Regions from separate parts of the Homo sapiens genome. Here region 1 is linked to region 2. The links are contacts of gene promoters, found by promoter capture Hi-C in blood cells and fetal thymus (Javierre and others, 2016). All regions are on one chromosome and are shown on one strand. Each heading gives the region's core, a stretch centred on a gene start or on the middle of the fragment in contact. The rest is flanking DNA. Distances are from core to core; before and after follow the strand shown.

Region 1 (7,483 bases), core at 678-3,177, 69 kb before region 2:
TTAAAATTGTAAAGCATGTTTAACATACGCAGAAATAGGCTGGGTATGGTGGTTCACGCCTGTAATCCCAGCATGCTGGGAGGCCGAGGTGGGTGGATCGTGTGAGCCCAGGAGTTAGAGACCAGCCCGGGCAACATAGCAAGACCACATCTAAAAAATAAATAAATAAATAAAAAAAAGTCAGTATTTTGAAATTATTTGAGCTCAATGCAGTTCTACTCTTTGGAAGCAGATTAGCTAACTGAATCTGGTGCTCTTGTTGAATAGAAATAGGTGATGGGAAATGTCTATCATTTGACTTTATAAGGATAAGCAAGATTTACCATGATGCTTTGATTTGGGGGTGGATTCCAGTCCATCATTGCCCTGGCACATGTCAATTAGTACACACAAAATTCAATGTCAAATCCAGAGCCTCAGAGGAAAAAATTTATTCCCCAAGAGAACAATGATAACATAACAAAGTAAAATGTTATCTAGATTATATTGGTATTAAAATTATCTCTTATATAAAGTATATTGACTGTAACTATACATAGAAGATTCATAGTAACACCTGGAAGTTCCTTCTCATGTTATATATAAATTGAATTATGAAAGCTTTTTATATTACCTGTTTATGGCCTTATAGATTTAATGTACCAAATGAAAACTTCCCACTCTACCTCTAGATAAGATAAAATCTATATTTATTTTCAAGGTAGAGTTTTAAGTGGCCATATTTCTTAAGCCGTATTCAAAGGAAAATTTTATTTCAAGGCACATTTTCACTCTGTCACCCAGGCTGGAACACAATGGCATGATCACAGCTCACTGCAGCCTTGACCTCCTGGGCTCAAGCGACCCTCCCACTTCAGCCTCCCGAGTAGCTGGGACTATAGGCATATACCACCATGCCCAGCTAATTTTTCCATTTTTTATAGAGATGGGGTTTCACCATGTTGCCCAGGCTGGTCTTGAATTCCTGGGCTCAAGCGATCTGCTCACCTTGGCCTCCCAAAGTGCTGGGATTACAGGCATGACTACCATGCCTGGCCACTCAAGGAAATTGTGTCTTAACTAAGTTTGAATGCTGTTCCTCTTCATTTTGTATATGAAACTTCAGCTGATTTAATATTGACATTCATCATCTAGTCAAACCCTTCACATGTTCTTCAAACCAACCAAATTTGGGGTTCTTGACATTTTCTGTGTCAATAAAATTAGATGTGGATCTTATCTTTTTTTTTGAGATGGCGTTTTGTTCTGTCACCCAGGCTGGAGTGCAGTAGTGTGATCTTGGCTCACTGCAACCTCTGTGTCCCGGGCTCAAGCAATTTTCCTGCCTCAGCCTCCTGAGTAGCTGGGACAACAGGCACCCGCCATCACGCCCGGCTAATTTTTGTGTTTTTAGTAGAGATGGGGTTTCACCATGTTGGTCAGGCTGGTCTCAAACTCCTGACCTCGTGATCTGCCCGTCTCGGCCTTCCAAAGTGCTGGGATTACAGGCGTGAGCCACCACGCCCAACCAAGATGTGGATCTTATATTTTATTTTGAGATGGAGTCTCGTTCTTTCGCCCAGGCTGGAGTGCAGTGGCATGATCTCAGCTCACTGCAAGTTCCGCCTCCCGGGTTCATGCCATTCTCCTGCCTCAGCCTCCCAAGTAGCTGGGACTACAGGCACCCGCCACCGTGCCCGGCTAATTTTTTTTTTTTTTTGTATTTTTAGTAGAGACGGGGTTTCACCGTGTTAGCCAGGATGGTCTTGATCTCCTGACCTCATGATCCACCCGCCTCGGCCTCCCAAAGTGCTGGGATTACAGGTGTGAGCCACCACGCCTGGCCTGTATCTTATTTTATCTAGATCTACTAGATTTGATGAAGACTTGTTTTTTCCTTGCCATACTGGCCTTCTAGATGACCTTTGAATTGAATTTAGAAGATGGGAAAGTGTAGACCTGTCTTGGCCTGAGTCTTTTTTTTGAGATAGTTTCACTTTTTTTTTTTTTTTTTTTTGTTTTGAGATGGAGTCTAGCTCTGTTGCCAGGCTGGAGTGCAGTGGCACAATCTCGGCTCACTGCAACCTCCGACTCCCTGGTTCAAGTGATTCTCCTGCCTCAGCCTCCCCAGTAGCTGGGAATACAGGCATGCGCCACCATGCCTGGCTAGTTTTGTATTTTTAGTAGAGACAGGGTTTCTCCATGTTGTTGAGGCTGGTCTTGAACTCCTGACCTCAGGGGATCCACCTGCCGCGGCCTCCCAGAGTGCTGGGATTACAGGCGTGAGCCACCATGCCTGGCCTGGCCTGAGTCTTTTAACAGCAGAGAAGAGGAAGAGAGTGAGACCCTGAGGAGTGAGGGGGGAGACTGGCTGTTGACTGCAGGACACTGTCAATGCCTTATTGGTGGCATTCGCTAGACTTGGGGGCAGCCGTTATTCTGGAAGAAGTTACTTAAAAGTTAGAGCAGTTGTTTGAGCTGTATAAATCTGCATCCGTAGGAGCAGTGCCAGAAGTTGCAGCCCCTGCTGGAGCCTGGCTACCATTGCTCTGCCCATGCCTGCTCCAACCGTGCTGGGTGCATCTCACTTGATGCTGATGCTGGGTGTGTAGAGAACTGCTGGCTCAGGGCAGCTGCAGACAAGGTTGATGCTGCATGACTTCTGAAGCGAGGTCAGAAGAGGCCAAACAAGAAGATAAAATATTTTAGAGGAAATTAAAGAAAAAGGAAATAAGGAAGAAGCCAAACAGCTTCCACCTTGTTCAGTGGAACAATTGCTCAAGGACCTCTGAGCCACTTTTAACAAGTCTGACTGCCCAGAGACTGCCATGTTGTAAGGAAGCCCAAGTCACATGGAGAAGCCATGTGTAGATGCTTCAGTCAGCAATGCCAGCTGAGTCCAGTCTTTTTGTTATCTCAGTCCAGGTGCCAGACATGTGAGTGAAGAGTCCTCCAGATGATCCCAGTCCCCAGCTGCTTGAGTCACACTAAACCATCAAGTCTTCCCAGCTGGGGCTCCAGAGAGCATGGAGCAGAGTCAAGCCATGCCCACAAAGTCCTGTCAAAACTCCTGATCCCCAGAATCAGTAAGTTTGACAAAATAGTTCTTTTGGGAGTTCCTCTTTATGCAGCAATAGATAACCAGAACAACATGTCAGTTATGATTAGGTTTGGCTGGTTGCATGCAACAGAAAACCTCCAAATAACAACAATTTAAAACAGATGAACTTAAAGAGGCCAGGCGCAGTGGCTCACACCTGTAATCCCAAAGCTTTGGGAGGCCAAGTGGGCGGATCACCTGAGCTCAGGAGTTCAAGACCAGCCTGGCCAAAATGGTGAAACCCTGTCTCTACTAAAAATACAAAAATTAGCCAGGCATAGTGGTGTGCACCTGTAGTCCCAGCTACTCGGGAAGCTGAGCCATGAGAATTGCTTGAACCCAGGAGGAGGAGGCTGCAGTGAACCGAGATCATGCCACTGCACTCCAGCCTGGGTGACAGAGTGAGAGTCTGTTTAAAAAAAAAAATTTAAAACAGATGAATTTAAAGAAATGTGGAGTCAGGCAGCTCAGGGCCAGTACAGCAGCTCCATGGCTATCGGGGATCCAGCTCCTTCTGTCTATTGTATTCATCGTTCTAGCATAGGACTTCCATCCTCAAGGTCACCTCATGATCTAAGAAGGATGCTAAAGCTCTGGACACCTTGTTCAAATTGTAGTCTGGAAGGAGGAGGAAAGAGCAAAAGAGTTTTCATCCCCTCCCCTCTGACAATCACTCCAGGAGTTCTATATAATGCTTCTACTTACATTTAATTGGCCAGACCATAATTACCTGGTCATGTTTAGCCACAAGGGAGGCTGTGTGCACTCTATTAGTGGGACAGCATTAAGCTAGTTATTGGAAATCTTGCAATTGCCTAGATAAAAATGGAATATTATTTTTTTTCTTTTAAAAAAAAATATGCCAAGCTGCGCCAGGCGCAGTGGCTTACGCCTGTAATCCCAGCATTTTGGGAGGCTGAGGCGGGTGGATCACCTGAGGTCAGGAGTTTGAGACCAACTTGACCAATATGGTGAAACTCCGTCTCTACTAAAAATACAAAAATTAGGCCGGGCGTGCTGGCTCATGCCTGTAATCCCAGCACTTTGGGAGGCCGAGGTGGGCGGATCACCTGAGGTCAGGAGTTTGAGACCAGCCTGACCAACATGGAGAAACCCCGTCTCTATTCAAAATACAAAAAAAATTAGCCAGGCGTGATGGCGCATGCCTGTAATCCCAGCTACTTGAGAGGCTGAGGCAGGAGAATTGCTTGAACCTGGGTGGCGGAGGTTGTGGTGAGCCGAGATCGCGCCATTGCACTCCAGCCTGGGCAACAAGAGCAAAACTCCGTCTCAAAAAAAAAAAAATACAAAAATACAAAAATTAGCCATGCGTGGTGGTGTGTGACTGTAGTCCCAGCTACTCAGGAAGCTGAGACAGAATTGCTTGAACCCAGGAGTTGGAGGTTGCAGTGAGCCAAGATTGTGCCACTGCACTCTAGCCTGGGTGACAGAGCAAGACTCTGTCTAAAAAAAAAAAAAAAAAAAAAAAAAAAAGCCAAGCTGCAGAGTGCAGGAGTTTTCTTACAATGAAAGAGGAGGAGAATGGAAGTTAGGAGGCAACAGCAGTCTCTGCCATTGAAGGGCTCCCAGTGGAGTGGGCATTTGAACCAAATCTTGAAGGATAAAGGAGATTTTATTTTCTATGTTTTATTTTTTTTAATAGCTAATGTACGGCCGGGCGTGGTGGCCCAGGCATGTAATCCCAGCACTTTGGGAGGCCGAGGCGGGCGGATCACGAGGTCAGGAGTTTGAAACCGGCCTGGCCAACAACGTGAAACCCCATCTGTAATAAAAATTAGCTGGGTGTGGTGGCGCATGCCTGTAATTCCAGCTACTCAGGAGGCTGAGGCACGAGAATCAGTTGAACCCGGGAGGTGGAGGTTGCAGTGAGCTGAGATCGCGCCACTGCACTCCAGCCTGGGTGACAGAGTAAGACTCTGTATCAAAAAAAAAAAAAAAACCAAAGGAATGAAAGAATGGTTACTCCATAGGCAGAACAGCTGCATGGGCTGCTTGACTGAGTATATTTATAGTTATTTCTGGATTATATATTAAACAAGGAGTGGATTATCCATGAGTGTTCTGGGAAAGGGGTGGGCAATTCTTGGAGCTGAGGGTTCCTCCCCTTTTTAGACCATAAAGGGTAACTTCTGGACATTGCCATAGCATTTGTAAACTATCACGGCATGGGTGGGAGTGTCTTTTAGCATGCTAATGCATTATAATTAGCATTTAATGAGCAGTGAGGAGGACCAGAGGTCACTTTTGTTGCCATCTTGGTTTTGGTGGGTTTTTGCCAGCTTTTTTACTGCATCCTGTTTTATCAGCAAGGTTTTGTGACCTGTATCTTGTGCTGACCTCCTATCTCATCCTGTGACTAAGAATGCATAACTGCCTGGGAATGCAGCCCAGTAGGTCTCCACCTAACTTTACCCAGCCCCTACTCAAGATGGAGTTGCTCTGGTTCAAGCACCTCTGACAAAGGTATATATCAGAAGTCTACATAGCAAATCTAACAAGGTCATTTACATATTAAAGAATGTACGTCAAGCACATTGGAATGGTTGCCTATAGAGGGTTGGGAATGAGAGTGGCAACTGGGATTAAAACAACAAAAAAATAGGTACGGAAGTAAAATAAAGCCGGGCCCTTTTGGAAAATGGTGATGATAGGCTAGGAGGAAGGAATGAGTATAATGAACTTGTCACTCTGCTCCTTTCAAAATAGAAAACAAAAGGGAAAATTGAAGACTTTAAGAGAAAATTGTCATTTCAGAGTTCCCTTTGTTCTTTGTTGAGTTGGGGATGGAGGCTAGATTTGCAAAGGGAATGGGAAGTGTCAGAGAGAGAACCTCTGACAGACTCAGGGTTCTGTGATTTGCAAGGGCTGGAAGCACAGTTTGAAACGCTTTAGGCGAAGGCTGGAATGCATTGGCCTCTTGAACTCCAAGGAAGAGGTGAATAACCAAACCCCTGCAAGGACAGGCAGGGATGGAATTGGGCCTCACTAACCCCTGGAAGCCAGGATGTCCATGCTGCCAGGATCCTCTCTCTGCATCTCCTTTCTGTTTTTATCTGCTTTGTCTTCATTCTCTTTCACAGAAAACCAGGCTTGCTACAAACAGCAGCCCTCAGGAACTGAGTTAACATGTTATGATTTGCTGCAGGAACCTAGAAGCTCCCAGATCTGTGAGCTTCCTTGGCTCAAGTTGGTCAGGGGAGTCTTGAAGGGTGTCCAGTTCTACTCTCAAAGGCCTCTGGGGTGGGTGGTGAGGCTTCTGTTACACAGGCTGAACCTGAGGTCAGTGAGGATTTCCATAATCTCAGACCAAGCCATAAGATGTTGAATGTCAGGCCGGGTGCGGTGGCTCACGCCTGTAATCCCAGCACTCTGGGAGGCCGAGGCGGATGGATTACCTGAGGTCAGGAGTTCGAGACCAGCCTGGCCAACCTGATGAAACCCCATCTCTACCAAAAATGCAAAAAATTAGGCGGGTGTGGTGGCGCATGCCTGTAATCCCAGCTACTCGGGAGGCTGAGGCAAGAGAATCACTTGAACCCAGGAGGAGGAGGTTGCAGTGAGCCGAGATTGCACCATTGCACTCCAGCCTGGGCAACAAGAGTGAAACTCTGTCTCAAAAAAAAAAAAAAAAAAAATCGACGGTCATGGGATGAACGTCAGGGTCATAGAATGAATGCTAGCCTCACAATGTATCTGGGTAAAAATGCTGTTGTCCTGATACTGGTATTTTTCCTAGGGAGGGGACAGTATATATATATGTACATTACACGAAGATACCATGGCAACCTGCTTGAGGAAAATGTGAGCCCTAAGCACCCTGGCTGGCAGGGCTGAAATGGCAAATCTGCTTTGCATTAGAGGTGAACAGGAATTTGTGGGAAGGAGAGAAGTAGCAGACAGAAATATAAGGGAGCGGCGGCTGGGTGCAGTGGCCCATACCTGTAATCTCAACACTTTGGGAAGCTGAGGAGGGAGGATCTCTTGAGGCCAGGACTTCAAGACCAGCCTGGGCACACAGACTCTGTCTCTACCAAAAAAACAAAACCCAAAAAACCAAAAATTAACCAAGTGTGGTGGCACGCGTCTGTAGCTACTCAGGAGGCTGAGGTGGGAGGATCATTGAGCCCAGGAGGTTGAGGCTGCAGTGAGCTGTGATTGTATCACTGCACTCCCAGTCTGGACAGAGGGAGACCCAGTCTCAAAAAAAAAAAAAAAAAAAAGAAATGGAGCTGAGGATGTGGAAGGAGAGGAGCCAGTGAGATGGATGGCATGAGGCTGGGACACCAGTAGAGACGGGGAAACATTCCCAGTAGGAGGGTGGCCAAGTGCCTTGTTTGTGGGGCTCTGATGTGAGCACCTCTGTTGTCTTGCATCTTCAGGACA
Region 2 (6,618 bases), core at 1,163-3,662:
GTTCCTATCCCAGGACCCTTGCACTTGCTGTTTTCCCCAGCTTGAATTTCCTTCCCTCCATAGCCACATGCTCACACCGGTTGTTCCCTCAGGTCACAGTGAGACATTCCATGAACAACCCCTTAAAAATGGCAAAGACCGGGCATGGTGGCTCAAGCCTGTAATCCCAGCACTTTGGGAGGCTGAGGCAAGCAGATTGCTTGAGGTCAGGGATTCAAGACCAGCCTGGGCAACATGGCCAAACCGTATCCTACTAAAAATACAAAAATTTGCCAGGCGTGGTTGCAGGCGCCTGTAATCCCAGTTACTTAGGAGGCTGAGGCATGAAAACTGCTTGAATCCGGGAGGTGGAGGTTGCAGTGAGCTAAGATCGTGCCTCTACACTCCAGCACTCCAGCCTGGGTGACAGAGCAAGACCCTGTCTCCAAAAAAAAAAAAAAAAAAAAAGCAAATGACCTTCCCCTTCCCCTGGTGTTCACTATTTCCTTTCCTGCCTATTCTGCTCACTGTACTCATTATCTGACATACCATATGTTTCATTTATTTTTCAAATTCTTTGGGTCCTCCAGTAGAAGGTAAGCTCCAAGAGGACAGAGATTTTGCTTATCTTGTTTTGTTCCCAGTTCTACCTCTAGCACCCATCACAGTGCTTGGAACAAGAAATCCATTCAACTGTATTTACTGAATGAAGCAATTAATTATTTGATGACATATCAAGTTACTTTTCCCTGTAACCAGATACTATCCCAGGAAAGAGAAAGGGTGATGGAAGAAAGAGACATGCTGAAAGACTCAACACTTATTCAAAAGAGATTGAATTAGCTTAGAAATCATTTTAAAACAGAAAAGACAAATATTGAACTGCTGAGTTCAGGCCCAGCCCCTATGTGCCTTGTCACCCTGGGTTGTAAGTGCTATTTAACTGTCTCCCCTAGTTTGCTCCCCTGGTGCCATGTCATTTATCTCTGTAGTCCTGCTCCTCCCACCACTAACTCCCACAGTCAGGATGGAAGTTCCTGGGAAAGTTTGGTGAGTTAGAGAAAATAGAGAAGCCATATTTCTTTTGCAGACCAAAATTTCAGTGTGTTCAATGTTGTTCCCTCAACCTGATATTATTACACACTTGATGTTATTGCAGTTTGAGAAATGAGGAAATTGATACTCTGAGCAGCTGAGCTTCTTGTTGGGGCTCACAGAGTCAGAAAATGATGGGGCAGGTTTTAACCCGGGGTCTGGGCTTTCCTCCCTACTCCAGGTGAGTGGTGTTTTAGGGCCTCAGGAAGACACAAGGACGGAGGTCAGCTTGTTTAGGAAATTCACACGTTTCTGACTCTGTAGAAAGGTTAGCCGACAGCCTTAGGGTGGGTGGAAACTTCTGCCAGATGAGCAGGAAGGGATAGGTGGCTCATGCTGGAATTGGTGGGTGGTAGGTCTGACCAGGGTCTTTCTCTGTTTAAACCTTCCCATGGGTCCCTCACCTGGCATTTGAGGCCCACTGAGACCTGGAGCTTGAATGCTTCCTCAGCTTTACCCCCGCCTCTCTCCTAACCCACCCCTCCATGTTATGCAGGTCCCCGACACTCCCATGCTCTCTCCCGCATCCAACCTTTGCATAGGCTGACCTCTCTGCCTGGGACACCCTTCTGCTTTCCCCTCTCCTTCCTTTTCTATTTTCGACTCACTTTTTAGGACTCAGGATATCCCTCCAGGAGGACTCTCCTTTCCCTCAGCCTGGGCTGGACCATGTGTACCCAGCCCCCTGGTTTCCCACTGCCACAGCCGTGTCACCCTGGGTTATAAATGCTATTTAACTGTCTCCTCCAGTTAGTTCCCCTGGCACCATGTCATTTATCTCCGTGGTCCTAGCTTCCAGCGCAGAGTCTGGCACAGAGACAGCTAAGTACAAATGAGCTTTCTCTCCCATTAAGGTAGCTGTGATCTTCACAAAGCTTCGTTCATTCTGGGGACTATTTTGCAAAAGGGCCATACCTGCCTCTCCTCTTTCCTGCTTCTCTTGCTCACCCCTCCCACTCCTCCTCACACACTAGGCCACCCCCACATGCTCCCTGGAGCTGGGCAGGAAGAGGAGGGATGGAGCCGCTGAGAGAGCAGCTCTGGATGTTGTAGTTGTCATCTATCAGCTGGCACCTGCTGCTGGTGAGGCGCCTCCTGCCTCCTATACGTGGTGCTAGATGACAACCTGCAGCCCATCCTTCTAGCCCTTGGGATTCTCTGACCAGGCCTTAGTCTCTAAGCCCTGCCCCTTCCTTAAGGAGGTTCAGGTTACCTGGAGTCAGCTGGGATAAGAGCAGCAGCACAGTCAAAGTCAGCAAAAGGAGCTTCATGGCTAAGGCAGCCCAAAATGAAGCTGCAAGTCCGATGCCACGGCTGAGCTAATGGGAGAAGGAGAGTGCCTGGCCTGTGGCTCGCACTCCCTCAGCTGCCCACGGGTACAGCCCTCACACTCTGACTGGACACCCCTCCCTTTGTCATTTAGGTCAGCAGGGAGAGGACAGCCAACAAGGTCCAGGGCCCAAGACTTAATATACTACCCGTTCCTTCCACCCAGCTCCAAACTGCCTGAACCCAGTGACCAGCAGGAGGCGCCACAAACACCGGCTCCGGAAGGTCAGGGAAGACGGCAGAGTTTTGAAGAATAAATACAAAGCAACAGGTAGATGAGCTGAAATGGGGTTCCAGGTGGAGGAATGTCTGTACAAAGGCTCATGTTGGTGTTGAAAATGAGAAATATGACATAACCAGAGCAAAAACTGAGAGGAAAACGGCAGAAAGAGATGAAGCTCCGAGCACCAGCCTGTCTGTCACAGCCCCCTGCTGGGTTCTAACATGCGGTGGCCCTCCCCCTAGGGTCATCCTTCCGCTTCCTCAGAGATCTGAGAACCAACCACTCAGAATCCTTCTTCTGAACTCGGGTTTTGAAAACTCATTCTTGGCCGGGCACGGTGGCTCACGCCTGTAATCCCAGCAGTTTGGGAGGCCAAGGTGGGTGGATCACTTGAGGTCAGGAGTTCGAGACCAGCCTGGCCAACATGGTGAAACCCCATCTCTACTACAAATACAAAAAGTAGCCAGGTGTGGTGGTGCATGCCTATAATCCCAGCTACTTGGGAGGCTGAGGCAAGATAATCGCTTGAACCTGGGGAGGCTGTGGTGAGCCGAGATCGCGCCACTGCACTCCCGACTGGGCGACAGAGCAAGACTCTGTCTCAGAAAAGAAAAGAAAAGGCATCTCTTTCCTTTAGTTCCCTCAGCCCTCGGGTGGTAGCTGCATCCTGTAGTTACTGTTTCTCTGACTGGACCCTGCTTGAAACAGATGTCAAGGGTATAATAGCATACAGAGGGATTACAAGGGAAAAACAACAACAACAACAACAACAGTGAAAGCCATTTCTGTAGGGGCAGAAAACAGTCAATGGGGTTGAAAACTGAAAGGTAAGTGAAACAGTGAGGTCAGCAAGTGTAAATAATTCTTTCTAAAACCCTTACAATGAAGAGAAGAAGAGACACTGGCTAGGAAGGGACTCAGTGGAAAGCCTGGAAGTCCACCTTTCCTGTGCTGTTCATTTTTGGTAAGGAGGCTCATTTCATTTCTTTTTTTTTCTTAATTTTAAAAACTATTTTTTATCTTTTTGTTTTTGTTGTTGTTTTGGATACAGGGTCTTGCTCTGTTGCCCAGGCCTGGAGAAATAATGTATCTGTTGGATTCTTTTCTCCCTAAAAGAAGAGATTTTCCCACTGCCTGAAATGCCAGGATATATGGAGGATTTTTGTATTGAGAGTGACAGCAGAGTTGAAAATATTGGGTAACTAGTCCTGACACTGCTACTAGCTTTCTATGTGACCTTGGAAGAATTACTTTTTTTTTTTTTCTGGGTCTCAATCTCTTCAATTAAGGATTTGGGGCAGATGTGCAGTAGGGATCAATATATCCATCATATTATATGGTTTTCTATATAAAAGACACAGAAAGTAAAAGAATGCAGCAATCCAGGTTTTCAACACCAAAACAGGGCAAGGTAATTGGGTTTTCAGATAAGGATTCTCTAGCCTGCCCTTATCAGCCCCCAAGTCTCTGAACCACTTATATCACAGGTCTTTTCTCTTGACCCCAACTCCCAAGTACACTGTGTGGGTCTTGCAAAATCATTGTCCATCTCTGGGCCTGCTCCTTGCATAGTCAATGTAGCAATTTTGCTCTTGTTTTGAAGCCTTTGTAGTCCTCCTGAGGACTCTGGAGTAGCTGTGTATCCACAATGGGCAGGGGATAAGGGAGATGTCAAGGGAGCAGAGGGAGACTTATATGTGCACCTCCAGGCACACCTCAGACATCAGACACCAGGCACACCTCAGACATCATGGCCTGTTCATGGTGAGTCAGAAGGGCCTACTTCTCAACCTCACCAGGAATCAAGGACAAACAAATTCAGATGACAGTGAGGTATCATTTCTCCAATCAAATTGCCAAGAAAAAAAAATATATATATATATATATATAGAGAGAGAGTTGGAATCTTGCTCTGTTGCCCAGGCTAGAGTGCAGTGGTGCGATCCTGGTTTACTGCAACCTTTGCCTCCCGGGTTCAAGCAATTCTTGTCCCTCAGCCTCCTGAGTAGCTGGGACTACAGGCACGCACACCACCATGCCCGGCTAATTTTTGTATTTTTAGGCCAGGTGTAGTGGCTCATGCCTGTAATCCCAGCACTTTGGGAGGCCGAGGCAGTCAGATCACTTGAGGTCAGGAGTTTGAGACCAGCCTGGCAGATATGGTGAAACTCCATCTCTACTAAAAAAAAAAAAATTAGCCAGGCCTGGTGGCATGTGCCTGTAATCCCAGCTACTCAGGAGGCCGAGGCAGGAGAATTGCTTGAACTCGGGAGGCGGAGGTTACAGTGAGCCAAGATCGCACCACTGCACTCCAGCCTGGGAGACAGAACGAAACTCCATCTCAAAAAAAAAAAAAGAAAAAAAGTAATTTTCGTGTTTTTAGTAGAGACGGGGTTTCACCACGTTGGCCACGCTGGTCTCGGACTCCTGATGTCAAGTGATCCGCCTGCCTAAGCCTCTCAAAGTGTTGGGATTACAGGTGTGAGCCACCACACTAGCCAAGAGTATTATTTTATTGATGATCCTAGACTTTTCTAGGATGTAGGGAAAGAACGATACCTTGATCATAGAAATCCAAATCCAAATCCAGACTTTTTGGAAGTTGTTTGTCAATATCAAATCCTTAAAACATGCAGGCCCTGCAATCCAGAAACTTCACTTCTAAGGCTTTGTAATGGACCTTTGCATGCTCAGCAGTGATTTCCTTTTCTTCTAGTGACAGCCCCTTAATTTTCCTTTGGGGAGCCAAATCGCCTTCACTCTCAGCTCAAGATATTCGGGTAGGGTTCCCATCTTGCTTTTAGATTTTGCATTCTCTACTGAGCTGCTAGACTTACCTTTTATTTTTTATTATTTATTTAATTATTATTATTATTTTTTGAGACAGAGTCTCGCTCTGTTGCCCAGGCTGGAGTGCAGTGGTGCGATCTTGGCTCACTGCAACCTCTGCTTCCCAGGTTCAAGCAATTCTCGTGCCTCAGCCTCCTGAGTAGCTGGGATTACAGGCACACACCACCATGCCAGCCAATTTTTTTTGTATTTTTAGTAGAGACAGGGTTTGGCCATGTTGGCCAGGTTGGTCTCAAACCCTAGGCCTCAAGTGATCCTCCTGCCTTGGCCTCCCGAAGTGCTGGGAGCCCCCGTGTGAGCCACAGGCATAAGCCACCGCACCTTTTAAAAAGATGAATTTTTAAAGACTCACCTTTTAAAAATATGAATTAGATGTTGATTTATCTGATGGCTATCTTTGCACTAGGATACATTCCTACTCTTTCTGCTGGTCTGCACGATCTGGTTGCTGCATACTTCTCTGACCTCATCTCATAGCAATTGCTCCTCTCCCACTACTCTTCAGCCACGCTGGCTCTCCTTCTTTCCTTTAAATGCACGAATCGTGTTCCTACTTCAGGACATTTGTGCTTGCTATTTCCTTTGCGTGCAATATTCTTCCTGATTTTCTTGTGACTGGTTCCTTCCTCCCACTCATGTTTTAGCTCAAATAGGAAACTCCTGGGAGAGTTTTTCCTAACCACTAATTCTGATGTCACAAATTGTCACTCCATATTGACTTTACAGAGCCCCTATTAGATGCTGGTTCTGAAGAATAAACTTTGAAGTCAAGACAGACTTGGGTTAAGTGCTTGATCTTCCATTTGTGAACTTTCTGACATTGTATAAATTGCTTAACCTCTGTGGACTTAAAGTTTTCATCAGTAAAAAGAGATCTTAAAGTTACCTATTTCACTGAATTATCACAGGGAATAATGTATGTAAAAGGCTTAGGACAATACATGAATTGTTTATTATTAATAAACTATAACATCATAATAATCATTTAATAAATCTGACATGTAGAAATAGTACAGAAAGCATTATCTTATGACAATACCTGAGAGTTCACCTGAGAAGACTTGAATGTTTAGGGTGGTGGGATCTGGAAGCTTTTTCACTCATGGGTGGCACCTGAAGGCTGGGTTTATCTGGGGCTGTCA

Evidence for each region. The method cuts DNA at HindIII sites, captures the fragments that hold promoters and counts their contacts. A CHiCAGO score of 5 or more calls a contact.
Region 1: a fragment that was not itself captured here is called in contact with the fragment with the promoter of DEFB123 in region 2 in 1 of 17 cell types (endothelial precursors); the score reaches 5.7 in endothelial precursors.

The regions. Positions count from the first base shown.
Region 1 is chr20:31,504,105-31,511,587 of GRCh38, reverse strand. It overlaps the pseudogene CD24P3. Among named protein-coding and RNA genes, the nearest start is that of HM13, 6.6 kb to the left of the region's middle. The HindIII fragment of the contact is 2,650 bases long and covers 603-3,252 here.
Region 2 is chr20:31,436,426-31,443,043 of GRCh38, reverse strand. It overlaps DEFB123 (defensin beta 123), which reads right to left and starts at 2,412. Exons shown (of 2, transcript NM_153324.4): 1 at 2,288-2,412. The coding sequence starts at 2,345. The HindIII fragment of the contact is 4,618 bases long and covers 1,952-6,569 here.